Linked DNA regions of Homo sapiens: all the other regions are linked to region 5. The links are contacts of gene promoters, found by promoter capture Hi-C in blood cells and fetal thymus (Javierre and others, 2016). All regions are on one chromosome and are shown on one strand. Each heading gives the region's core, a stretch centred on a gene start or on the middle of the fragment in contact. The rest is flanking DNA. Distances are from core to core; before and after follow the strand shown.

Region 1 (3,253 bases), core at 538-3,037, 700 kb before region 5:
CTTCCCAACAATACTATAAGCTCCTCAATAGCAGGGACATTACATGACTTATCCTTTTGTCTCCTCTGTGATTCTAGCACAGTGGGAATCATTAAGGAGCACAGTGCCCACTGTTCTGGATTTTCCGGAAAGCCCTAATTTTAAATAACTCATATCAGTTTTCCAAATCATTGAAATATCTCAAATTGCAATTTTGGAGGTCACCGAACTACCCTCTCCTGCATGGAACCTTTTTTTTTTTTTTAATTTTGAGATAGAGTCTCACTCTCTCGCCCAGGCTAGAGGGCTGTGTCACGATCTTGGCTCACTGCAACCTCTGCCTCCTGGGTTCAAGCGATTCTCCTGCCTCAGTCTCCTGAGTAGCTGGGACTACTGGTGCGCCACCATGCCTGGCTAATTTTTGTAGTTTTTGGTAGAGACGAGTTGGCCAGGCTGGTCTCGAATTCCTGACCTCAGGTGATCTGCCCACTTTGGCCTCCCAAAGTGCTGGGATTACAGGCGTGAGCCACCGCACCCAGCCTGGAGTCTCTTGCTGTTAGTAACAGCACGACATCCTTTGTCAGGCTCTATACTCCAACTTCTGCTTCTGACACTACAGTCACTGTATGTAGCCACATGCTATTGATTCGATGTGCAATTTCCTTGCTATAATCTGGCATGAGATTGAAAGCAAAAGAACAAGAGGCTCATTTCATAGTATAAGTTTGTGGAGGATAGCTAAGAAAAACAAACAAGAAAAAGTCTAGATTTGCTCTTTAATGTTCTAAACACACAAATACCTTCAGAATTCATGGGCCAGACTACGTGAACATGTACAGAAACACAGAGAACATGTGTTCTGTTCTAGAAATAGTACTCTAGAACATGTACTATTTCACTCTAGAAATAGTACTAGCCCATGAATTCAGCCATTCATTAGGAAGATGCTATATGCCCTTCAGCAGCTTTCATTGACCAGTCCCAATAAACATAACACAAAATAGGTTAGATAAAATACAAGAAAGAACACACGTGATTAAGTGTCCATGTAAACATCAGATAATGAATCTTACAGATGTCAGAGAAATGGGCTGGCCATGTGATCTGGAAGATCCCCTTGAAAGAAGGCATTCATTGCCAGGTAGTGGCTCACGCCTGTAATCCCAGCACTTTGGGAGGCCGAGGCGGGCGGATCACGAGGTCAGGAGATTGAGACCATTCTGGCTAACACGGTGAAATCCCGTCGCTACTAAAAGTACAAAACATTAGCTGGGCATGGTGGCGGGCGCCTGTAGTCCCAGCTACTCTGGAGGCTGAGGCAGGAGAATGGCGTGAACCCAGGAGGCGGAGCTTGCAGTGAGCTGAGATCGCGCCACTGCACTCCAGCCTGGGCGACAGAGCGAGACTCTGTCTCAAAAAAAAAAAAAAAAAAGAAAAAAGAAAATTAAAAAGAAAAAAGAAAGAAGGCATTCGTGATATCTGGAGAGTCACAGTGAAGGAGAATGGGCAGCTCTGATGAAGGACAGGCATGAACTCAGGCCTCTATCTGGGGCCGAGGAGGAGAGAGTAAAACCAGATGGGAATTTACCCTGGATTCCCCAACACATCGGGAAGCCCATGGAGAGCTTTCAGCAGTGCGTTTTAGGAACATTGGTACTTTAGTAAGATTATTATGATGCAGAGGAAAAAGGCAGAAACAAAAATTTGAATGTGGCTGGGCATGGTGGCTCACGCCTGTAATCCCAGCACTTTGGGAGGCCGAGGGGAGGGGATCACCTGAGTTCGGGAGTTCAAGACCAGCTGGGCCAACATGGTGAAGCCTTGTCTCTACTAAAAAATACAAACATTACCCGGGTGTGGTGGCGCGCACCTGTAATCCCAGCTACTCAGGAGGCAGAGGCAGAAGAATCACTTGAACCCAGGAGGCACAGGTTGCAGTGAGCCGAGATCAAACCACTGCGCTCCAGCCTGGGCAACAGAGCGAGACTCCATCTCAAAAAACAATAACAACAACAAAATTTGAATGTGAGGGTTCACAGGATTTGTGACTGATTGACCATAGACAATGAAAAGGTCCAAGAGGTTGGGGTCCAGGAACTAAGGGAGGACCCACTACTGGGCAGGTGATTCCTTTTACAGAAAGACAATAGATGAGGTCAGCAGCAGAGCCAGTATGTAAACAAGTGTGTGTGGTTGGTGTTCTTGGCTTTCAAAGAAATGGTGGCCTTAGCTCAGTGCAGTTTCCTGAACTTGCTTGAACATAAACATTTCCTTGTTATAAAGATTCCAAGTTTCCTTTAGTAGATCTGGGATGAGCCTGGCGACTCTCTTTCTTTGAAAGAGATTTTTAATAGACTTTTAAAAATTGACTTTATTACTTAGAGCAGTTTTAAGTTTTTTATGCAAAATTGGGCAGAAAGTACAGAATATTCCCTCTCCACTGCCCCCTACTGGCCTCGCCATCAACAGCCTGCACCAGAGTAGTACATTTGTTAACAATAGATGAACTTACAAACAGTATTATCACCCAAAGTCCATAGTGTAAATTAGGGTTCACTCTTGGTGTTGTACATTCTATGGGTTAGGACAAAGGTATAATGACATGCATCCACCATTTTAGAAGGTACAGAATAGTTCCATGGCCCTAAAACTCCCCTGTGTTCTGCCCATTCATTCCTCCCTCCTCACTAACCCTGGGCAACTGGTGATCTTTTTATTTCTCTGGGAGGCTCCCAATCAGTTGCCACATTAAAAGGCAACTTCTAGAAACACAGATCTTGTGATTAGAATTGAATCCACAATCTTTCTTGCAATCCACTTTGTTTTCTAATTGACATTTATCATTACTACCTGTTACTCCTTTTGATTTAAACTTGCTAGAATAGATATTAGTTTCCCCTTCAAATTTCTAGCAGAATACTTTGAAATAGTGAATGAATTCCTCAAGTCTTTATCTACCTTTGTTCAAAGTGAAGTTACATAATAATAACAATAATACAACAACAGCAATCATGCCCAACATTTATTGAATGCTTGCTACGTGTCATATGCTTTTCTAAATGGTTTACAGGTGTTTGTTCTATTTAATTCCAAATAACACCATCAGAACAGTTGTATTATTATCCCTATTCTATAGATGAGGAAAATGAAGCACAGACATTGGCAAAATGGTATCTCACTCCAGAGAGATGAGAGTGCTACTGCCCAAAAAGATGTAATGGAGCCAGGCGCAGTGGCTCATACTTGTAATCCCAGCACTTTGGGAGGCCGATGT
Region 2 (3,408 bases), core at 704-3,203, 640 kb after region 5:
ATTGGAGTGCAATGGCATGATCTTGGCTCACCACAACCTCTGCTTCTCAGGTTCAAGCGATTCTCCTGCCTCAGCCTCCTGAATAGCTGGGATTACAGGCATGCGCCACCATGCCTAGCTAATTTTTGCATTTTTAGTAGAGACAGGGTTTCTCCATGTTGGTCAGGCTGGTCTCAAACTCCCGACATCAAGTAATCCCCTCCCACCTTGGCCTCCCAAAGTGCTGGGATTACAGGTTTGAGCTATCATGTCTGGCCCCCTATAGCAGCTATTCTTAAGTCTCCAGCTTCAGAGGGCTGGGGCCAGGAGAGGTTAAGAGGTGAACATCCATATTTACAGCCTTCATGTTTGGGGCCTTCTTCTCCCTCCTAAGGTTTTTCTGTGTTAAAATGCAAGTACATGTGCCCCTGGTGGAGAAACTCCCCGGGCTATAAAATTTTTACTACAGAATTGACAGAAATGGTCCCTGTAGATTTGGCTGAAATAAGATGTGCTTGAATTGTAAAGGGATGCCCCATATTTGGGGTAGGTGCTGTGCTAGTCACAGTCAATGTGCTTGTCAGGTGCATCCCCCTAGAAAACCAGCTGAGTTTGGTGTGAAGATAATTGGGAGGAGGAGAGTTTGGGTTCAGGGAGGAAAGGCCTGGTGGGGGCCTGCAGTGGATGGGAGAGCAAGAAAGAAGGGGCGTGGAGAAAAGTAGGGAGGCAGGTGTGGGGGTGCTAGAGGTTGTTACTTCCTGAAGTTGGGTCCCTCTGGGTGGAATGCCTTTCAGTGACCAGGGGCCACCTGTCCCACCATGTGACTCCATTGCTCAAGGAGCGTCCAGTGGAATAAGTGAGAATCTGAAGCAGAGAAAAATCATCCAGCAGCCATGTGATGAGTATGTAGGGGAGAGTTGAGGCTATGTGGTCAGCTTCGGTCCCGAGTTAGAATCAGATCTGTGACTTCAAGCAGAGTGACCCTGAGCTGGTTATCCAACTAATTCGTGACTTAGGCCTTCTGATAAACTGGGCTTCATAATATACTCATCTCACAGGGCTGGTGTGAGGATCGGCAGGGGTCATGTGAGGAAGCACTTAGCAGAGTCTAGCAAGCACTTAAATAGCAACTAGCGTCATGACAAAGCTTTATGCTCTGGATGCCCTTGACGGGGCTTTTAGCTGTGTGACCTTCAAGAAGTCACCTGCTCTTTCTGAGACTCAGTTGCTTCAGCCCTTTAAAAACAGAAACAAACACAGCCGACCACAGGGTGTGTATGGATCTGAATGAGTACAGACAAAGTCACTCATTGCAGGACTGAGTAGGAGGCAGGGTGCTGGGATTGGTGGGTTTAGGGAGGTCTGGGAGGGCCCTGAAGCTCAAGAGAAGTTTGTTTGGAAAGAAAAGCATCTTCCGTTTTGACTGAGAGGAAATGGGGAGGGGATGTGGTGCAGCGTCAAAGGCAGGGTCTGCTGACGAAACTTGGTGGTGGTGTTTCTCAAACAGAAATAGGACATTCTCACTCTCCGTGACACTCAAACTCCAAAGTTTCGGCCTGGGTGGTGGTTGCACCTGTCACTGACGACCTCACTTGACTTTGAGTTAAGCTGCCCAGGCAGCCAGAGCAACTGTGCCCTGGAAGGCGGCCCTGCCATCAGACAGACATGTTTTTCATATATTCCTGATTTTCATGTAGTAGTTCACTGGACATTTACTGCACACCTACTATATGCTAGGTGCAAGGGATTCAGCAGTGAATAAAACAGTTGCAGGTCTTGCTCTCAAAGACCTTTCAGTCCTGCAGGAGACAGAGGCAATAGAGAAAGAACAGCTTACTTGCATGTATAATTAAGATTTTTGCTGTGACGTTAAAGTTCAGAATGCTGTGAGACTGTACAATGGGGCAAAACCTAATTTAGATTGGGAGACCAGCAAGATAAATGAAACAGGAATGGAGTTCAGATGAGAGATGAAATAACACTGGACTGAAGTGGAGACAGGCTTTCTTTTTTCCTCAAACACCTCCCTTCACATCCAGGCATAGACCACTGGAAAAGTAGTTGCCCTGCTTCCTGATATTACTGTCCTCTAAATACACACACTTTGTGTACCCCCTCCATTCATTTCCACCCCGTCAGTCATTCTTGCCTGTATAAATTTCAACTTTAGCCACAGCCCTGGCCTCACTTCTTATAAAGCCTGCTTCACTCTTCAGTTCTCCAAGTTCTCTCTTCCTTTAGGCCTTTTTTTTTTTTTTTCAGGGTGGTCTGGACTGCTCTTTCAACCTGATTCTATTTGCCCATGTGGCATGTTTTGTTAATCCCATGGCCATACGTATGCTGGCATGTCTATAGTCCATCTGTGCAAATAGATGATACGTAGCATTTCCTCAACCAGAATACTGAGGAGCCTATGCAAATGAGCCATAATAGATCTTATCCTTCAGCCTGCTCACTTGAATGAGTTAAAACTGAGATACAGAGTAGTTAAAGGGGCCCACCAGTCACTGGACGAGAGTCTCAGACTATGATCATGTCTTGTTATTTTATCTTTATATCTCTTCAGGGCATTTGTTCCAGAGTCAGAATGCAATAGATGTTTTCTCTTTGATTGTTTATTCCTCGAGTTGGCCCATACATGTACTATCCCCTGTTCTTCCATTACTCATTTCAAGCAGTAGCTGTAGCATCTGTATTATTTAGCTCCTCTGTATGACTTGATTATCTTATCTGTCAAATGGGTATAGTAATTCAAATCAACAAACATTTATTCAATACTTACTATATCTCAAGGACTTTGCAAAGCTTTGGCGGGGGGCGGGGGTGGGTGCTGCAATAAGCCTGTTAAGATAGATCTGTACTCTTGCCTTAAGGAAACACACAGTGGTAGAACTTGGTAAAGGAATAACTACACTATAGCAAAAATGTCTATAATAAAGGAATATGCAACATATGGGAACACAGAACAGAGTAACTATTGCCTGGGGTAAGTGGAAAAGCTCATTAACACCTTCTCTACTTACCTTGAGTTTGCATTATGAGATTCTAATGAGATCATGCAGTGAAAGTGTGATGAAAAATGGAAAGGATTGTGCATGAAAACTACTAACCAAATGGATGGCAGTGTGATATGGGAGACTTTGGAGAGAGGTGAAAGAAGAAAGTGGTGGCTGCGACAAGAGGTTTGGACAGCATCTGTTCTGATGAACCAGTAAGTCTTACACACAGATAAAATTCAGAGGCATGGCTATAGACCATCTGAGCTACAGCCACCCCAGCTTTAAATTAAGATTTTGGCCACAGGAATGACCCAACCTCTTCATTCCATTAACATAGGTGAAAGCTCTGTGACCTGGAGTATTTGTCACCATTATCCTCCCATTGGAAGAAGATGATTGGGAAGACTGGAATTAGATGAGCGGAGGGAAT
Region 3 (3,315 bases), core at 176-2,675, 780 kb before region 5:
AATAGAAAATCTAAAACAGGAATATGTGTATATGGCATGAATTAGTCATTGACTTTAAGCTTCTTATCCATACAAGGAACTAATAAAATGTTTATTGACAACATAAATCCAAGGCTCTAACATGTCTTAAGTTAATGTGAATCAGAAGTAACTTTGAGGTGGGGCGCAGTGGCTCATGCCTGTAATCCCAGCACTTTGGGAGGCCAAGGCAGGCGGATAACCTGAGGTCAGGAGTTCAACACAACCCTGGTCAACATGGTGAAACCCTGTCTCTACTAAAAATACAAAAATTAGCCGGGTGTGGTGGTGCATGCCTGTAATCCCAGCTACTCGGGAGGCTGAGGCAAGAGAATCGCTTGAACCCAGGAGGCAGAGGTTGCAGAGAGCCCGAGATCGCACCACTGCACTCCAGCCTGGGCGACAGAGCAAGATTCCTTAACAACAACAAAAACAGAAGTAACTTTCAGTCCCTGGAAAATGTGAGATCTCTAGTATAATTGACCCTTTATCCAAGTAATTTCATGTATCATTCAGGAGTGCAGGCTCTGGGATCAAATGGTCCATGCTCTAGTCTCAGCCCTACCATTTAATAACAGAATGGCATTGGGTGAATTACTTGATCTCATGCTTTTTCTTCCCTACAAAGTGTTAGTAGTAGTACCTGTTCATCATAGAGTTGTGTAAGGCTTGGATGGTCAAGGAAGGCTAGATAGAATAGCATTAAAGAGAATCCTAATTGAGGGGTAGATGTGGGATATTGGAATGATGAAGGCCAATCCAGGTGTGTAACTGGAACATATTAAATACTGCATGCCCGCTGTGTCCAGAATTCTCTTAAGTTGTTCATTCTAATTTCTGTTTTAAGATTTTCTTGTCTAACCTCTTGCATCACTCCCATAAAAAGCACAAAGAATAGTTGCAGTACCCATTTAAAATTTTTTATTTTTTGAGACAAGTTCTCACTGTCAGCCAAGCTAGAGTACAGTACAGTGGTGTGATTTTTGGCTTACTATAGCCTCCGCCTCCCAGGCTCAAGCGATCATCCAACCTCAGCCTCCTGAGTAGCTGGGACTACAGGCATGTGCCACCATGCCCGGCTAATTTTGGGGGGTTTTTTTGTGGTTTTTTTGTTTGTTTTGTTTTGTTTTGTTTTGTTGTTGTTCTTGTGTTTGGTAGAACGGGGTTTTGATACGTTGCCCAGGGTGGTTTCAAACTCCTAGGCTCAAGCAATCCGCCCACCTTGGCCTGCAAAAGTGCTAGGATTACAGGTGTGAGCCACCATGCCCGGCCCCTTCAAAAATATTTAAGCATAAGCTGTTCTTTAATAAGGCTGCTCGCCAGCTTCCCTCTCCTTACCAGCAATTTCCCTGCACCTTCCACTTGAAAGAAAATGAAAGCTAATTGCAATAACTTTGATAAAGTAGAATTAGGATAGAAAAGTCGCTTCTTTTAAAATAGATTTTCAGGCCGGGTACGGTGGCTTATGCCTGTAATCCCAGCACTTTGGGAGTTTGAGGCCAAGGTGGGCGGGTCACCTGAGGTGAGGAGTTCGAGAACAGCCTGACCAACATGGCGAAACCCTGTCTCTACTAAAAAATACAAAAAAATTAGCTGGGCGTTGTGGTGCGCGCCTGTAGTCCCAGCTACTCAGGAGGCTGAGGCAGGAGAGAATCGCTTGAGCCTGGGAGGCAGAGGTTGCAGTGAGCCGAGATAGCGCCACTGCACTCCAGCCTAGGCGACAGAGCAAGACTCCATCTCAAAAAAAAAAAAATTTTTTTTTAATTAAAAATAAAACATTTTCAGCCTAAATGTAACATAAATATTTTTTGTATCACAGTTAAGAGATTTGTCTCACTGGTGCTGACACCAGTAAGGGCTTGTTCTATTAACATAATAAATTGGATGGGTTTTAACTTTACAAAGTGAGTAATTCCATCTAACCAAACTCATCTAAGTCCATTGTTTATTCCTTCACCCCTGCCCCCTGCACTTTTCAATATAATAAATTGTATGTTTTTATTTTAGCTGTAGCATATGGCCTGCCTATTCCTTCCCCTCAATACCACCTCCCAAAACAATGTAGGGCCTCACTGACAAAATATTTTTATTATATTGCCATGAAATTAAGAGGCTTACTTAGACCTTTCAAATGTTCAGACACAGTTGAGGAGGCCAGTTTTCTATAGTCTTTCACGTCAGCCTGTTAGTGACTGCTTTATGGATGAATTCAGCCATGGATTTTCATAATGTCGTGATGTCCTGTCAATAGGAGAAAGCACTATCCTCTATAAACTTGACAGTGTAATGGCATATACAAACTTTTTTTTAAACTTTATTACCAGTAGAGAGAGAGGCTGCTTACACCAGAGATTTTTTAATTGGCAGAATCACCTGGAAAGATTTTTAAAATGCAAGTTTCTGCATTTAAATAGCTGCTTTAAACTGAATTAATACTTGTAAGTGCAGCTCGTATGAAGAAGAAAGACGGCCTGGTAGGTGATGGTATGCAGCTTTTGGCTGCTCCTTGAGCAGATTAAGTGGGTTATTATCTTGGAGCTACTCATTACACAGTGTACGACTAAAGTAGGTTAAAGTTAAGGAGATGCTGTAGATCTACTTTTTAGAACTTGGGGGTTAAAATGTCTTTGGTTGAGCTTGGGCCCAGAGCATACAGGAATTTAGTACATAATAAGATGAGTTTTCAATGTGATTGAAAACTCAGCGGTTGTGCCTTGGGAAAAGGGTGATGCTCATGGAAGGGAGGACGGTATTACTGCTAGGTGAACAATGAAAAGCTTTTCACACCATTAAAGTACTCAAAATAATAAAGGGAGGACGATACTACCATCCCAATCAGCAGCTAGAATGAAATGATGTGCCTTTTTCTGCTAAAAGCTCAGTGAATGCTAGCCATCCCAGCCCCAACCTACCTCCACTCCCAACCTCCTTTCAGACCCTCTTCAAAAGGAAGAGAGCACACATATGGGCAGTGATAATGAAGAGTGTAATTCCAAACAATTGTTCATGTCTTAAACACAGTGAATAACAAAAACACAGAAGCTTTGAGGACCAAGGCTTGCCTATTGAAAACTTCAGCTTTTTTTTTTTTTTTTTTTTTGAGATGGAGTTTCGCTTTTGTTGCCCAGGCTGGAGTGCAGTAGTGTGATCTCGGCTCACTGCAACCTCTTCCTTCCAGGTTCAAGCGATTCTCCTGCCTCAGCCTCCCAAGTAATTGGGATTACAGGCACACGCCACCATGCCCAGCTAATTTTTTGTATTTTTAGTAGAGATGGGGTTTCAGCATGTTGGCCAGGC
Region 4 (3,281 bases), core at 766-3,265, 630 kb before region 5:
ATTTGTATGAATGGTTTTGTAGCATAGATATAAAGAAATATGTAATTCGTTTGAGTTTTGTCCATTTTAAATATTGATATATTCTTCCCTTTTGCTCTCCAAAAAAAATTTTTTTTTTTTTTAATTTTTTATTAAGAGACAGGGCCTTGCTCTGTCACCAGGCTGGAGTGCAGTGGCGCAATCTCGGCTCACTGCAAGTTCCACTTCCTGGGTTCACGCCATTCTCCTGCCTCAGCCTCCTGAGTAGCTGGGACTACAGGCGCCCACCACCACGCCCAGCTAATTTTTTTGTATTTTCAGTAGAGATAGGGTTTCACCATGTTAGCCAGGATGGTCTCGATCTCCTGACCTCATGGTCCGCCTGCCTCGGCCTCCCAAAGTGCTGGGATTACAGGTGTGAGCCACCGCTCCCGGCCTTTGTGTATTTTCTTTTGAGTGACATCCATCCAAGTCCTTTGCCCATTTTAAAATCTGGTTGGTTGTTTTTTGTTGTTGTTGTTGATTTTCGCTTATTTTTTTTTTAAAGCTCCCACGTAATGTTAGTTTACTTTTGATGAAGACATAGTCTCAGGATTCAAGTAGACCTATTGGGGAAAAAGTAGTGACTTATATTGACATTTTAAAGATCATAAAGAAGAGAGTACATTTATCAAGAGTGATATTTGAGGTAAATCCTTTTTTTTTTTGAGATGAGGTTTCACTCTGCTTCCCAGGCTGGAGTGCAGTGGTGTGATGATGGTTCACTACAGCCTTGACCTCCTGGCCTCAAGCAGTTCTCCCACCTCAGCCTCCCAAGCTGCTGGGACTACAGGCGCTCTCCACCATGCCCAGCTAATTTTTACAATTTTTTGTAGAGAGTGGGTCTTGCTATGTTGCCTAGGCTGGTCTTGAACTCCTAAGCTCAAGTGATCCTCCTGTCTTGGCCTGCCAAGATACTGGCATTACAGGTGTGAGCCACCACACCTGGCAAGGTAAATCTTTAAAGAATTTGTCAGGATTTGTGTATTTAGTAATGGCAGTAGAATGGATGGGGGGAGACATTTTATCAATAGATAGAGGAAAGAAAGGCTTAGGGGATAGAAGGTAGATTGCAGATAAATGGCAATTCAGTTTGGCTTGTTATTCATGGCTTGTATACAGTGGCATTGTGTGTGTGTACAGTAAGGAGGTTAGCAACAGCTATCAGTGTTAAAATGCAAATGTTCTTTTATCCAGCAACCACTAGAAATTTATTATAGAGATATAGATGTAGAAAAACAGTTGCAGTATTGTTGCAGCAGCATAAAACTGGAAATAAAGTACTGATCAATAGGGGATTGTACTTTTGAAAAGAAGCTTTACAAAGTGTATACAAATAATATAATTGTATTTGAGGGTAGGGTGGTTACGCAGATAAATGGAACATTTCTGGAAGAATAACCAAGAAACTGTTGACAGTGATTTTATACAAGTACAGAGGATGGAACGGGGATGTTCACTTGTTTTGTTTTCTTTCTTCCAGGGACATTTGAAAAAAAGAAAACTATTTTTCAAAGATCTTTAGAGCTCAATTTTTAAAGCTCTAGATTATTTTCATTATTTTATGCTGCCTCTGCATAACTAATTTTGATTTCAGGGCTAGGAGGGTGGAGGTAGGGTGAGGAAATGAAATAAGTTTTTGTCATCTAAATAATAAACATTATGAATTAAACTTAATTTTTTAAATCATTACTCCTGTTTGGGGCATTTCTTGAGGAGGATGTTTATAAAAATAAGGATTAATAATTCTTTATATACCAGAGATAATAAATTAGGCAAATGAGTAAAATCTCTCATAAGTTATTTTCTTTATTAAAAAATATTAAATATAAATACATTAAAGAGTGAATAGGAGAGGAATTTTCAGTATACAGGATAATCAGTTTGACTTTATTTTCATAAAAATTTGGCAGCAAATTTGTGACTTTAAAGGATATGGCAACTGAATGAGAAGTTTTAATTAATGTAGATGTCATAGCAAGATCAAGCTGCTTTATGATAATTTTTTAACCCCTTTTTAATGTGTTATTGAGTAAAAGAACACAAGAATTCTTTAATTAGGATACTTAGTAAACTGTGTTCTCACATTTAGAAAGGACATATACATCATTGCTGATAATTTTCCTGCAGTTTAGGGAATCTGTCAAAGTTTCTTCATCTGCAGACTTAGTGGTATCAGTTCATTAAAGCAAAGTTTCAATACTTGCCTCTTTTATCTTGTAAACTTAACTTTAAAGGCAAAACTATTGTTTAATGGTCCTTGTGATTTCAGCAAATTGTTTCTTTTTTTTCTTTCAAATATCAGATTTCTTTATACTTAAAATGTGCACATTATAGTTTACTTAGATACAAAATGTTTACTTTCCTTGTAGGTAAGGAATTTCACTGACATTTCCATGTCAATTAGCTTCTTTTTAGTAAAAATCCTTCCATTAAAAATAAACATTTAAATTACTCAACTATTATATTCATTAGTCTCAATACCTCTTAAAAATACTTAAAACTTTAGAAAATAGACTGTAAACCTTGCCTAAAGGAGGCATCCAGCTCTGAGCAGACCACACGGAATGTGTTAGAGCATGGCCATATGCATGGCCATACAACTCCTGGGGCCACCTCCACGATGGCCCAGCCCCACCACTGACCCTCTGCTGAAAACCCTGCCCCTCAGCAGGACGCAAGCTTGTCCCCCAAATAGTGGTGACCTCAAACTGTAATATGATGATGAAACCTACAGCCGATACTGCCTTCCACAAGGGTTTCTGGAAAGGCTGAAGCTGGAGACGGTAAACCGCAACACCGTCCCAGGTCACCCCAGCTAAAGACATTCTATACCAGCCAAAAGGCTAAAGTTTAGTTAAGGGTTCAAAGGCAAATACACTGAAACCCATGTGTAAACCTGCCTGGTTTTCAAGCTGAAAGAGAAACACTTTGGTGTCTTCAATAACCCAGGCCTGCACTGGATGAAGCAATGAAGGCAAGGTCACGGCTGCTAAAGCACGGAGAGGTTAAAAAGTGTGAAACCAGAAGAAACTCTTGAGTGAGAGATGTGAAGCAGCAGGCCGAGGCATCAGACACCTCTCCCACCACACACCTCTCCCACCAGACACTTCTCCCACCAGCTGCAGGGCTCTTGGCAGCGTTCTCAGCCCAGCCATTCTGTGACAGTTGTTTTAAGGAATCAGCTGTTGACCTTTTTTTCTCAAGCGGCAACAATAACATCAATATTACAGTGGTCTTATGAATACACCCATGTGATCAAC
Region 5 (3,211 bases), core at 273-2,772:
CTCATAATTACTTATTCAATGTCTGTCTTCCTGACTAGACTGTACAGTCACAAAGACAGGGCCTTCTTCTGACTGCCTCACCTCCTTATCAGTGCCAGGCACAATGCCTAGCTCATAAAAGATGAGTGATAAACACTTGACAAATGAATATAAAACTATGAAGGATTCTTATTTAATTCTAAAATTAGAGATAATTAAAGACATAGCTCTATTGGAATAATTTCTAGATTGATCAAATTTCCAGAAGTCCATTAAAGTTGATGTTAAAGGTCAATTCTAATTTTTCTGTAGGATTGTTGTCCTATAGAAGCAACTGTCCCTAATCAGCATTATGTCTCAGTTTATAATAACACTATATACGAGAGGCCTGATTGGGAAAAAAAGTACAAAAATCGGAGTGCAAATAATTAGCTATTTTTAGGGAAAATATCTGTAGGAAAGGTGGTATATTCAGATGTATCACTTCCTTTATCTTGCAAAGATTGTCAGATAGATGTACTGCTGGAGGATAAATTTAATTGATGTAGAATTTAACATAATAGTATATGCAACTTTAAATAAACCATGCAAGCCTTTAGCTAATAGTTATTACAGACCATGTGATTTCATGAAAGTATTAAATATGGATCAGTTTTCATTTAATGGCAGCCAATCACAAAGCGCCACATCTTGATTATAGGACATTCTCCCAGAAAATTGGAAAATAAATCACTATCTAGTCTCTTTTGTATTACCATGGAAAGTAGCTGGAAAAGAAATAATCTATTCTCTGCTTTGTGTTACTTTAAAAAGTAGCTGTGGCAATAGCCTAACGCGTTTTGAAGTTTTGAAATGATCTCTATCCAGTGTCTAGGAAATTGCTGAAGGCCTGCGTTCTACCAATTCCTCCGCTTAGGCACATGGACTACAGGTTATTAAAGAAGGTGACTTGCGGTTTTTATCCCGTTTTTCTGCAAGGTTGGGCTACGTTCAGAAGAAATCAAAGCCTCGGAGTTAATCCCGACAAAGCCCATTTAGTTCCATGCGAGGACTATTTCCTCCACACTGAGAGTCTCAACGAGGCCGAGAATAGCATATGCCAGTTGGAGTGACACTTATTTCTCCCTCTCCCCTTTATAGAATGTGTAGTGGCCCTCACTACTGCCCCCTTTAGCTGTGCCTCAGAACCCACAGTTACATGCTCCACAATATGGAGGCGAATAAGCCTAAGTGGACTACAATTCCCATCATGCCTCACTGCAGGCGCCGCCGACGTGTCTTAGCGGTTAGTCATCCCTCTTACCGCTTTCCTCCACTTCCTGGACTGCGCGACCGGAGGCCTAGCGGGCGCGCGCCCGCACCATCGACTCGCCAACGAGAGAAGGTCCTGGGGCACGGACACCGACGGGTTGCGACTGTGACGTGAGGTGTTCTCGCGCGCGCTAGCGCGCGTCTCCGGGTGCCGCTGACGGGCGTGCGCGCTTGTGCGGAGCCGGAGGTGGGGGCCGAACCAGCCAAGGTTGCGGGGGCCGCAGAGCCGGACGAAGACGGAGGGCGGAGCCGGCTTCGGGACTGCGGAGACTACACACCGAGCGAGCGCCTGGGCCCGAAGGGAGCGATGCTGTGGTTCCAGGGCGCCATTCCGGCCGCCATCGCGACGGCCAAAAGGAGCGGCGCGGTCTTCGTGGTGTTCGTGGCAGGTGAAGGAGGCAGGGGTTCGAGAGGCGGCCGGGACACCCCTCCGGCCTACCTTCATCCTCTTGTATACCTCAGCCGCCGGCCCGCCCTCCCCGAGACGCGGGCTCCTGTCGGCTCGCACAATTGCCACTACTACCCCGCGCCCCAGGGACGGCTGCGACTCCGCCGCCAGATCCCCCAGAGGGGCCATGCAGACCCTCAGCGCCCTGCTCCTTCAGGCCCCGGGCGCCCCCAGCCTTTCCTCAGTGTCTGCGAGGCCCGGGCTGCCGGCCCGTGGCTGTTCAGCGCCTCCCCGGTTCGTTTGAGATACAGTGGGCCTGGCCCCACCGCTGCGTCTCCCGGCAGCCGGGCCGGAGGCACCGTCTGGCCCTGGTCTCCAAAGCGCCCCGAGGCCCGCCGAAATCTCCCCGCTCGGGGCGACGGACGCGGCCAGCAGGCCCCAGCCGCCCAGCCCCGCTCGTCGCCCCGAGCCTCTCCCCTGCGCAGCCAGACCCCCGCGACCCTCTCCCTGACGTCCCTCTCTGTCACCAAGGACCCTCTTTGTGCTGCTTGAACGCCCGTTTCGTTACTGCTGTTTAGATGGAGGTAGGAACGGGCCATTAGGCAAGCAGTTGGGTTGTAATTAGTTGTGGACTGTCGGGAAGAAAGCTGTGTCATCGATAAGCAACAAAGAGAAACCACCTGATGTTCACGGTTACTGGTGTTAGTACGTTCCTGAAACGTAAACTTTTGAGCTGAATAGAGGTTTAATTTTTCTTTATGGCAGTCTTGGTAGGGGATCTAGTGTGAAATAATGTAAGTTTAAAAAAAATCCATTAGTTTCAAAGAAAATAGACGTTCAGTCCTTGGTTTCTTCCCTTTGTTGTCTTCTTAGGCTAAAATCTACACGACTTTGAGAACGTTTATTAACTCATATATTCTCTGTTGCTCTAGGCTATTTTGCTCCATATTCTCCTGTTTTATTACTGAAATCTTGTAGATTTACAGTGAACTCCCTGCCTCTACGGTTCTGCTCATACTCATTACATGGACCAAATCAATGTTTGTGGCTGTTGTTAATTTGAGGTGTATTTCTTCAACTATTTGTGTTTAATAACGGTTTATTCATAATTAACTCGTCTTTTAATAGCTCTATAACTTTATGCACTGCAGTGAAGAACGAATTACTGAAATGTGAATGTCATTTAGCATTAAATTTGGAATTTATAATTGTTTTGTTACGCCAAGTTTTTAGCTCAATGCTGTTTATTAGAAGAGCTTGAATAGTTTAGATTCTGTGATGCTGTCTGGGGGTTATATTATACTTTACATAAATTAATTCTGTAATCCCGTAAGGAAAAAAATGGATTGAAAATGAAAGGAAAAGTAAATGACACTATGCTTATTGTGTACATTAGTAGGTTTTTGACATTTTAAATTGTTTTTCTCCTAATATCTCAGTTGATCCTTGCAGTAAATAGAACAGGTTTAATTATCCCCATTTTATAGATGAGGCACTTAGGTCAGCAGTCATAAAGTGACTTGCACTAGGGCC
Region 6 (3,221 bases), core at 127-2,626, 670 kb before region 5:
GTCATACTTTCTGTGCCTCCCTCCAGGAAAGGAAAAAAAATTTTTATCTGAGGAATGGGAGCTTCTTTAAATTATCCATCAGAAAGAGTCATTTAAAATGTAACAGCAGTCTCACCTCTCCTGAGCTAAATAATTACCTTGAAGCCACTTGCCATGTGGGTTGTTAAATGATGCCAATGGCCATAAAATGCCATACGATGGGTATTATAATTCATACCCTGTAGTTCAACAATGTATAGCCAATCACTAATCAGTGTTATCTCTGTAAACCAATGAGAATTCCTGTCAAACAACTTGGTATCAGCTCACTCCTTGTTTCCTTTAAAAACCTGTTTGTAACAGAGGCAGACAGACAGACAGAACACCCCCCAAGGCAACTTGGAAATGTGTCCCGGGCTGCAGTCCTCAACTTTGGCCCAAATAAAATCCCTCTGTTATTTTGCCTCAGCTTCTTCTTTTAGGTCAACATGTGTAACTAATGACTTGGAGCTGTTCAGGCAGTTAGAGTTCAACCAGTTTAAAAGCCACATAGCTCATCGTGGATAGAAGGACTTTACCATGGTATATAATGGGTGTTCTTTCTGTCTTTAGTTTTTTAAGTAGAGATAGGGTCTTGCAGTGTTGTCCAGACTGGTCTCAAATTCCTGGCCTATAAAAGGAATTATTATTTTTATTTATTTATTTATTTTGTCAGCCAGCTGGAGTGCAGTGGCGCAATCTCGGCTCACTGCAACCTCTGCCTCCCAGGTTCAAGCAGTTCTCTTGCCTCAGTCTCCCGAGTGTCTAGGATTACAGGTGCCCACCATCACGCCCGTCCAATTTTGTGTTTTTAGTAGAGATGGGGTTTCTCCATGTTGGTCAGGCTGGTCTCGAACTCATGACCTCGTGATCCGCCCAAAGTGCTAGGATTACAAGCGTGAGCCACCACGCCCGGCCTGTAAAGGGAATTCTTAATCCAGAGTCTTGGGTCTCTTTAAATTGTATGCATTCTTAATTTTGAATGTGAATATGCACAATTTTCTTGGGAGGTGGTCCATAGCTTTTGTCAGATACTCAAAGGAGCCCATGACCCCAAAAAGGTTAAATAAAAGCTAACGTTTAAAAATATTTTGGTATATATTCATTATTTTAAAAATTAATGTATTTCATGTTGACAGAATTTATATATACAAAGGCTTACTTGAACATGTACTTTTGGGACAGCTTGTATGATAGAGACTACAGGTTTGTGTGGAAGCCACAGTTTATGCACATACAGGACTGGTAGTTTTTAAGTTGGTGAAATTTGTCCTTGATACCCTTCTACCATCTTACCCTTTTTCATAATCCTAGTATCCTGGCCTTGAGGCCCAGAGCCTCATTTTACTGGCCCTTAAATGCTCCAAAATTACCCACTTTTTTCCTTTGTTTCCAGTCTCTACCCCCCTAACTTCATCCCCTGTCCAAAATATTATGCTAATCCTAATCAGTGGAAAGCAGTTTTATTAATTTATTTAAAATATTTGAATGGATGGTAATTACTTGATGTTACAAAAATAGTTTGGTTTCATATTTTACTAAAATAGTCACAGAAACTTCTTTTAGGCTCCTATCTTTGAATTCCTTTCTGTTGTGGGTACGACTGGCTGGGGCTGGTGTTGCAGGTAGTAAAATAATTTACCAAGACAGTCGTAGGTTAAAAAAAAAAAAAAGAATTATTAGAGAAAGTATGAAGATACAAAGATATGTTGCAAGGGTGCAAGTGCAGCACAACAGAAAAGGGGCTGTCTGCAAAGAGGAAGGAGCTGGAGGGGCCTAAATGCAGGATGAGGTTATGTTCCTGGGGCTACATGCTCCCCTTCCATGTTGTTGTTTACCTATCAGGTCTCCACATTCCCCCCACAGCAGAACAATGATGACAAGTCTTTGACATTGAGGGTAGAGGTCTCATCTCCCAACCACTTCCTGCTAACCATGGGTATGGCAATGGCCCTGCCAATGGCTGTTGGTCTGTCAGGAGACTCTGTAGGTCATTGTCCTGGATTGTGGGACTTAGAATATTGTATTGAATCTTTCTTTCTTTCTTTCTTTCTTTTTGAAATGAGTCTCGCTTTGTCGCCCAGGCTGGAATCTAGTAGTGTGATCTTGGCCCATTGCAACCTCCATCTCCAGGGTTCAAGCAGTTCTCGTGCCTCAGCTTCCCAAGTAGCTGCGACCACAGGTGTGCACCACCATGCCTGGCTACTTTGTTGTATTAGTAGAGACGAGGTTTCACTGTGTTGACCAGGCTGGTCTCAAACTCCTGACCTCAAGTGATCCTCCTACCTCAGCCTCCCAAAGTGCTGGGATTATAGGCATGAGCCACAGTGCCCAGCCATATATTGGATCTTGTTGGAGGAAGGGACTTATCGGAGAGGGGGAGCATGTTAAGACATAACTAGCATTCAACTGAATCCAGGGAAGATTCATAAAAGTAGCAGGCATCATTGGGGAGAGACTTATATCCCGTTTGCAGTATCATTTGTAGGTGAAACTGTAGAATTCTAGAAGATAAAGTTTTGTTTCTTAAGCCAGTTATCAAAAAGGCAAAAAACCTTTTGCAGTGTGACTTTTTGTCCTTATTGGAAGCCCATTTGGGTAACCTGGAAGTTAAACTTGATGAAAAAGTGTTTGAATTTAGTTAGACACAACATAGGGAACCAATTTTAGAGAGACTATTATGCTTTAATTACATACAATATTCTTTTTATAAATTTCCTGTCATGATTTTCTCATGACTTACGTAGACCATCTATTATATGCTTGGACTTTTTGACTTGTCCTGAACATCCCTTATTTTTAAACAATGAGTTATTTTACTTTAGGACAAGAAATTACCATACAAGATCCTTTCTCATATAAAGTATCTTTTTTATAACCTTCCTTACCAAAAATACCTCTTTACCATTATAACCTTTAATTAGGCAGAAATTATTTTTCTTCTGTTAGTAAGTTATGGTTTGTATTACATGTTGCTGTGTGAGCCTGTGAAGGGGAGCAGATAGGGAAGTTGTCTACATACTGTAGAAGTTATCCCCCTTCAAGAGATTGCCCAGTTAGATTTCCTGCTAGGGTCTGTCTGAATAAGTGTGGGCTATTTTTAAGCCCAGGGGTAGGACTATGTAGGTTGAAGTTACTGGTTAAAGATTTAGGTAGCTTTCCCGGGAGAAATAGGGCTATTAGAGGGAAAGATGAATTCAGAG
Region 7 (3,242 bases), core at 436-2,935, 650 kb before region 5:
GATAGGGTCTTGCTTTGTCACCCAGGCTGGAGTGCAGTGGTACAATCATAGCTCACTGCAGCCTTAAACTCTTGGTCTCAAGTGATCCTCCTGCCTTAGCCTCCCTAAGTAGCTGGGACTACAGGTGCACACCACCATGCCTAGCTAATTATTTTGTAGAGACAGGGTCTTGTTGCCCAAGCTGGTCTCGAACTTCTGACTTCAAGTGATCCTCCCTGATGGACCTCCCAAAGAGCTGAGATGACAGGTGTGAGCCACTGTGCCCAGCCACCTAATCGTTTTCTTAACTGTGTCTTTTGATAAGCACAAATTTTATTTAGATGAAGTTCATTTTCTCTATTTTTAATTTTATTGTTAGTGCTTTTTGTGTCTGGTCAAAGGAATCTTTGCCTATCCCAAGGTATTTGCAAGATCCCAAGATATTCTCATGTTTTCTTCCATGTGAATATTTAATTATTCCAGCACCATTTGTTGAAAAGACTATTATTTCCCCCCTGAATTCCAGTAGCACCTCTGTTGTGAAGTCAAATGTAAGTGCGAATGTTATTTCTGGACTCTATTTCATTGATCTGTTTGTCTGTCTTTATGCCTATACTATACTGTCTTAATTATTGTAGCAAAGTGTTAAAATCAGGTAGTATACTTATTCATCAAAATTATTTTAGCTGTTCTAGGTTCTTTGGATTTTCATATTAGTTTTAAAATCAACTTGTCAATTTCTACAAAATGCCTGTTGCTGATGTTTTGATTGGGATCATGTTGAATATATAGATTAACTTGGGGAGAACTGGTGTGTTCACAGTGTTTTATCTTTCAATCCATGTATGTGATGTATCTCTATTAGGTCTTTAATATCTCTCTGCAGTGTTTTGAAGTATTTTAGGTAGAGTTTTTGCTCATCTTTCATTAAGTTTATTCCTAGATAATTTCTTTTTTTAATTGTAGTAAGGTATTTTTAAAACTTTCTCTTTCCAAGCATTTGTTGCTAGTATATAAAAATACAGATGGTTATTATATATTGACCTTGAATTTCATAACTTTGTAAACTCATCAGTTTTAGTCATTTGTTTGTAGATTCTTTTGGATATTCTACATACATGATCAGGTAATCTGTGAATAGGGACAGTTTTCTTTTAAATCTATACATTTATCTCTTTATTTTCTGGTTAGGATCCTCAAAGGTAATTTTTAATGAATTACTAGGTCAGTTTTGATGAACTAGAATTGTCATTTCGGTTCGCATAGCAGATACATGCCTTACTGGAACTTGGTATCAAGTGACTATATCCTAATGGAATTGAATATGGGATGTTAGAGTGTTGTTTATCAGTTGAGTCTGTTTTGGAGACAGAACTTGGATGCCTTGTCTTTATTGAATACAATCAGATCTTCCTCTAGATAGTTGTTGGTTAAGGTTGACAATAGTACCGGAATCCAGAATTAGGGACAGACAGTATCTCTGTATCATTTAAAAAGATTTACTGCAAACTTGAAAAAGGGATTTCTCTCTCCTTTTCTGGACTTTCTTTTACCTAGTTTTAGCCATAACTGCTTTATATTGGGCATTTCTTCTAGCAAAACAAGCTCTTATGTACATTATCATATTACTTACTGCCTCTTGAGACTTTGGTATACGCAGTTGATGCCTTGATTTAACACAGGTCAACCTCATGGTAAAGAAACCCACCCCACACAAAAAAAATTATGATTTTTGGCCAGGTGTGGTGGCTCATGCCTGTAATCCCAGCCCTTTGGGAGGCTGAGGTGGGCAGATGACTTGAGGTCAGGAGTTCAAGACCAGCCTGGCCAACATAGTGAAACCCTGTCTGTACTGAAAATTCAAAAATTAGCCAGGCGTGGTGGTGCATGCCTGTAATCCCAGCAACATGGGAGACTGATGCAGGAGAATCGCTTAAACTTGGGAGGCGGAAGTTGCAGTGAACCAAGATCGCACCACTGCACTCCAGCCTGGGTGACAGAGCGAGACTCCATCTCAAAAAAAAAAAAAAAAAAAAGAAAGAAAAGAAAAAAAATTAAAATTCTTTGCCCACTTTTTGATGGGGTTGTTTTTTCTTGTAAATTTGTTTAAGTTCTTTGTAGATTCTGGATCCATTAGCCCTTTGTCAGATGGATAGATTGCAAAAATTTTCTCCCATTCTGTAGGTTGCCTGTTCACTCTGATAATAGTTTCTTTTGCTGTGCAGAAGCTCTTTAGTTTAATTAGATCCCATTTGTCAATTTTGGTGTTTGTTGCCATTGCTTTTGGTGTTTTAATCAAGAAGTCTTTGCTAATATGCCTAGGTTTTCTTCTAGGGTTTCTATGGTTTTAGGTCTTATGTTTAAATCTTTAATCCATCTTAAATTAATTTTTGTATAAGGTATAAGGAAGGGGTCCAGTTTCAGTTTTCTGCATATGGCTAGCCAGTTTTCCCAGCACGATTTGTTAAATAGGGAATCCTTTCCCCATTGCTTGTTTTTGTCAGGTTTGTCAAAGATCAGATGGTTGTAGATGTGTCGTGTTATTTCTGACGCCTCTGTTCTGTTCCCTTGGTCTATATATCTGTTTTGGTACAAGTACCATGCTGTTTTGGTTACTGTAGCCTTGTAATGTAGTTTGAAGTCAGGCAGCGTGATACCTCCAGCTTTGTTCTTTTTGCTTAGGATTGTCTTGGCTATATTGGCGCTTTTTTGGTTCCATATGAAATTTAGTTTTTTCTAATTCTGTGAAGAAAGCCAGTGGTAGCTTAATGGGGATAGCATTGAATCTATAAATTCCTTTGGGCAGTGTGGCCATTTTCATAGTATTGATTCTTTCCATCCATGAGCATGGACTGTTTGTCCATTTGTTTGTGTCCTCTCTTATTTCCTTGCCTCAGCAATCCCATTACTGGGTATATACCCAAAGGATTATAAATCATTCTACTATAAAGACACAGGCACATGTATGTTTATTGCAGCACTGTTCACAACAGCGAAGACTTGAAACCAACCCAAATGTCCATCAATGACAGACTGGATTAAGAAAATGTGGCACATATAAACCATGGAATACTATGCAGCCATAAAAAAGGATGAGTTCATGTCCTTTGTAGGGACATGGATGAAGCTGGAAACCATCATTCTCAGCACTCTTAACACGGGAACAGAAAACCAAATGCTGCATGTTCTCACTCATAAGTGTGAGTTGAACAGTGAGAACACGTGGACACAGGGAGGGAAGCATCACACACTGGGACCTGTTG

Evidence for each region. Contacts are between HindIII fragments. The CHiCAGO score rates a contact against its expected background, and 5 or more counts as called.
Region 1: a fragment that was not itself captured here is called in contact with the fragment with the promoter of UBXN4 in region 5 in 13 of 17 cell types (non-activated CD4 T cells, naive CD8 T cells, total CD4 T cells and 10 more); the score reaches 11.6 in non-activated CD4 T cells.
Region 2: a fragment that was not itself captured here is called in contact with the fragment with the promoter of UBXN4 in region 5 in 3 of 17 cell types (fetal thymus, naive CD4 T cells and activated CD4 T cells); the score reaches 5.6 in fetal thymus.
Region 3: a contact is called between a fragment that was not itself captured here and the fragment with the promoter of UBXN4 in region 5, in 12 of 17 cell types (erythroblasts, activated CD4 T cells, total B cells and 9 more). The highest score is 11.1, in erythroblasts.
Region 4: a contact is called between a fragment that was not itself captured here and the fragment with the promoter of UBXN4 in region 5, in 3 of 17 cell types (total CD4 T cells, naive CD8 T cells and non-activated CD4 T cells). The highest score is 5.9, in total CD4 T cells.
Region 6: a fragment that was not itself captured here is called in contact with the fragment with the promoter of UBXN4 in region 5 in 5 of 17 cell types (monocytes, non-activated CD4 T cells, total CD4 T cells and 2 more); the score reaches 8.3 in monocytes.
Region 7: a contact is called between a fragment that was not itself captured here and the fragment with the promoter of UBXN4 in region 5, in 10 of 17 cell types (erythroblasts, M2 macrophages, total CD4 T cells and 7 more). The highest score is 9.7, in erythroblasts.

Annotation. Positions count from the first base shown.
Region 1 is chr2:135,041,109-135,044,361 of GRCh38, forward strand. The region is part of intron 1 of MAP3K19 (mitogen-activated protein kinase kinase kinase 19); the gene reads right to left. Among named protein-coding and RNA genes, the nearest start is that of MAP3K19, 4.7 kb to the right of the region's middle. The HindIII fragment of the contact is 4,100 bases long and covers 1-3,253 here.
Region 2 is chr2:136,381,016-136,384,423 of GRCh38, forward strand. No RefSeq gene overlaps it. Among named protein-coding and RNA genes, the nearest start is that of CXCR4, 260 kb to the left of the region's middle. The HindIII fragment of the contact is 1,658 bases long and covers 1,125-2,782 here.
Region 3 is chr2:134,959,236-134,962,550 of GRCh38, forward strand. CCNT2 (cyclin T2) reads left to right here. Exons shown (of 9, transcript NM_058241.3): 9 at 1-107. Among named protein-coding and RNA genes, the nearest start is that of CCNT2, 42 kb to the left of the region's middle. The HindIII fragment of the contact is 2,736 bases long and covers 58-2,793 here.
Region 4 is chr2:135,109,466-135,112,746 of GRCh38, forward strand. All of the region lies in intron 5 of RAB3GAP1 (RAB3 GTPase activating protein catalytic subunit 1), which reads left to right. Among named protein-coding and RNA genes, the nearest start is that of SNORA40B, 26 kb to the right of the region's middle. The HindIII fragment of the contact is 1,365 bases long and covers 1,334-2,698 here.
Region 5 is chr2:135,740,333-135,743,543 of GRCh38, forward strand. UBXN4 (UBX domain protein 4) reads left to right here and starts at 1,523. Exons shown (of 13, transcript NM_014607.4): 1 at 1,523-1,679. The coding sequence starts at 1,598. It overlaps LOC107985946 (a long non-coding RNA gene), which reads right to left and starts at 2,312. Exons shown (of 1, transcript NR_163478.1): 1 at 497-2,312. RefSeq lists enhancers at 1,141-1,270, 1,601-1,660, 1,989-2,764 and a silencer at 2,061-2,110. The HindIII fragment of the contact is 10,462 bases long and covers 1-3,211 here.
Region 6 is chr2:135,069,856-135,073,076 of GRCh38, forward strand. The region is part of intron 3 of RAB3GAP1 (RAB3 GTPase activating protein catalytic subunit 1); the gene reads left to right. Among named protein-coding and RNA genes, the nearest start is that of RAB3GAP1, 19 kb to the left of the region's middle. The HindIII fragment of the contact is 6,083 bases long and covers 1-3,221 here.
Region 7 is chr2:135,086,694-135,089,935 of GRCh38, forward strand. All of the region lies in intron 3 of RAB3GAP1 (RAB3 GTPase activating protein catalytic subunit 1), which reads left to right. Among named protein-coding and RNA genes, the nearest start is that of RAB3GAP1, 36 kb to the left of the region's middle. The HindIII fragment of the contact is 4,398 bases long and covers 1-3,242 here.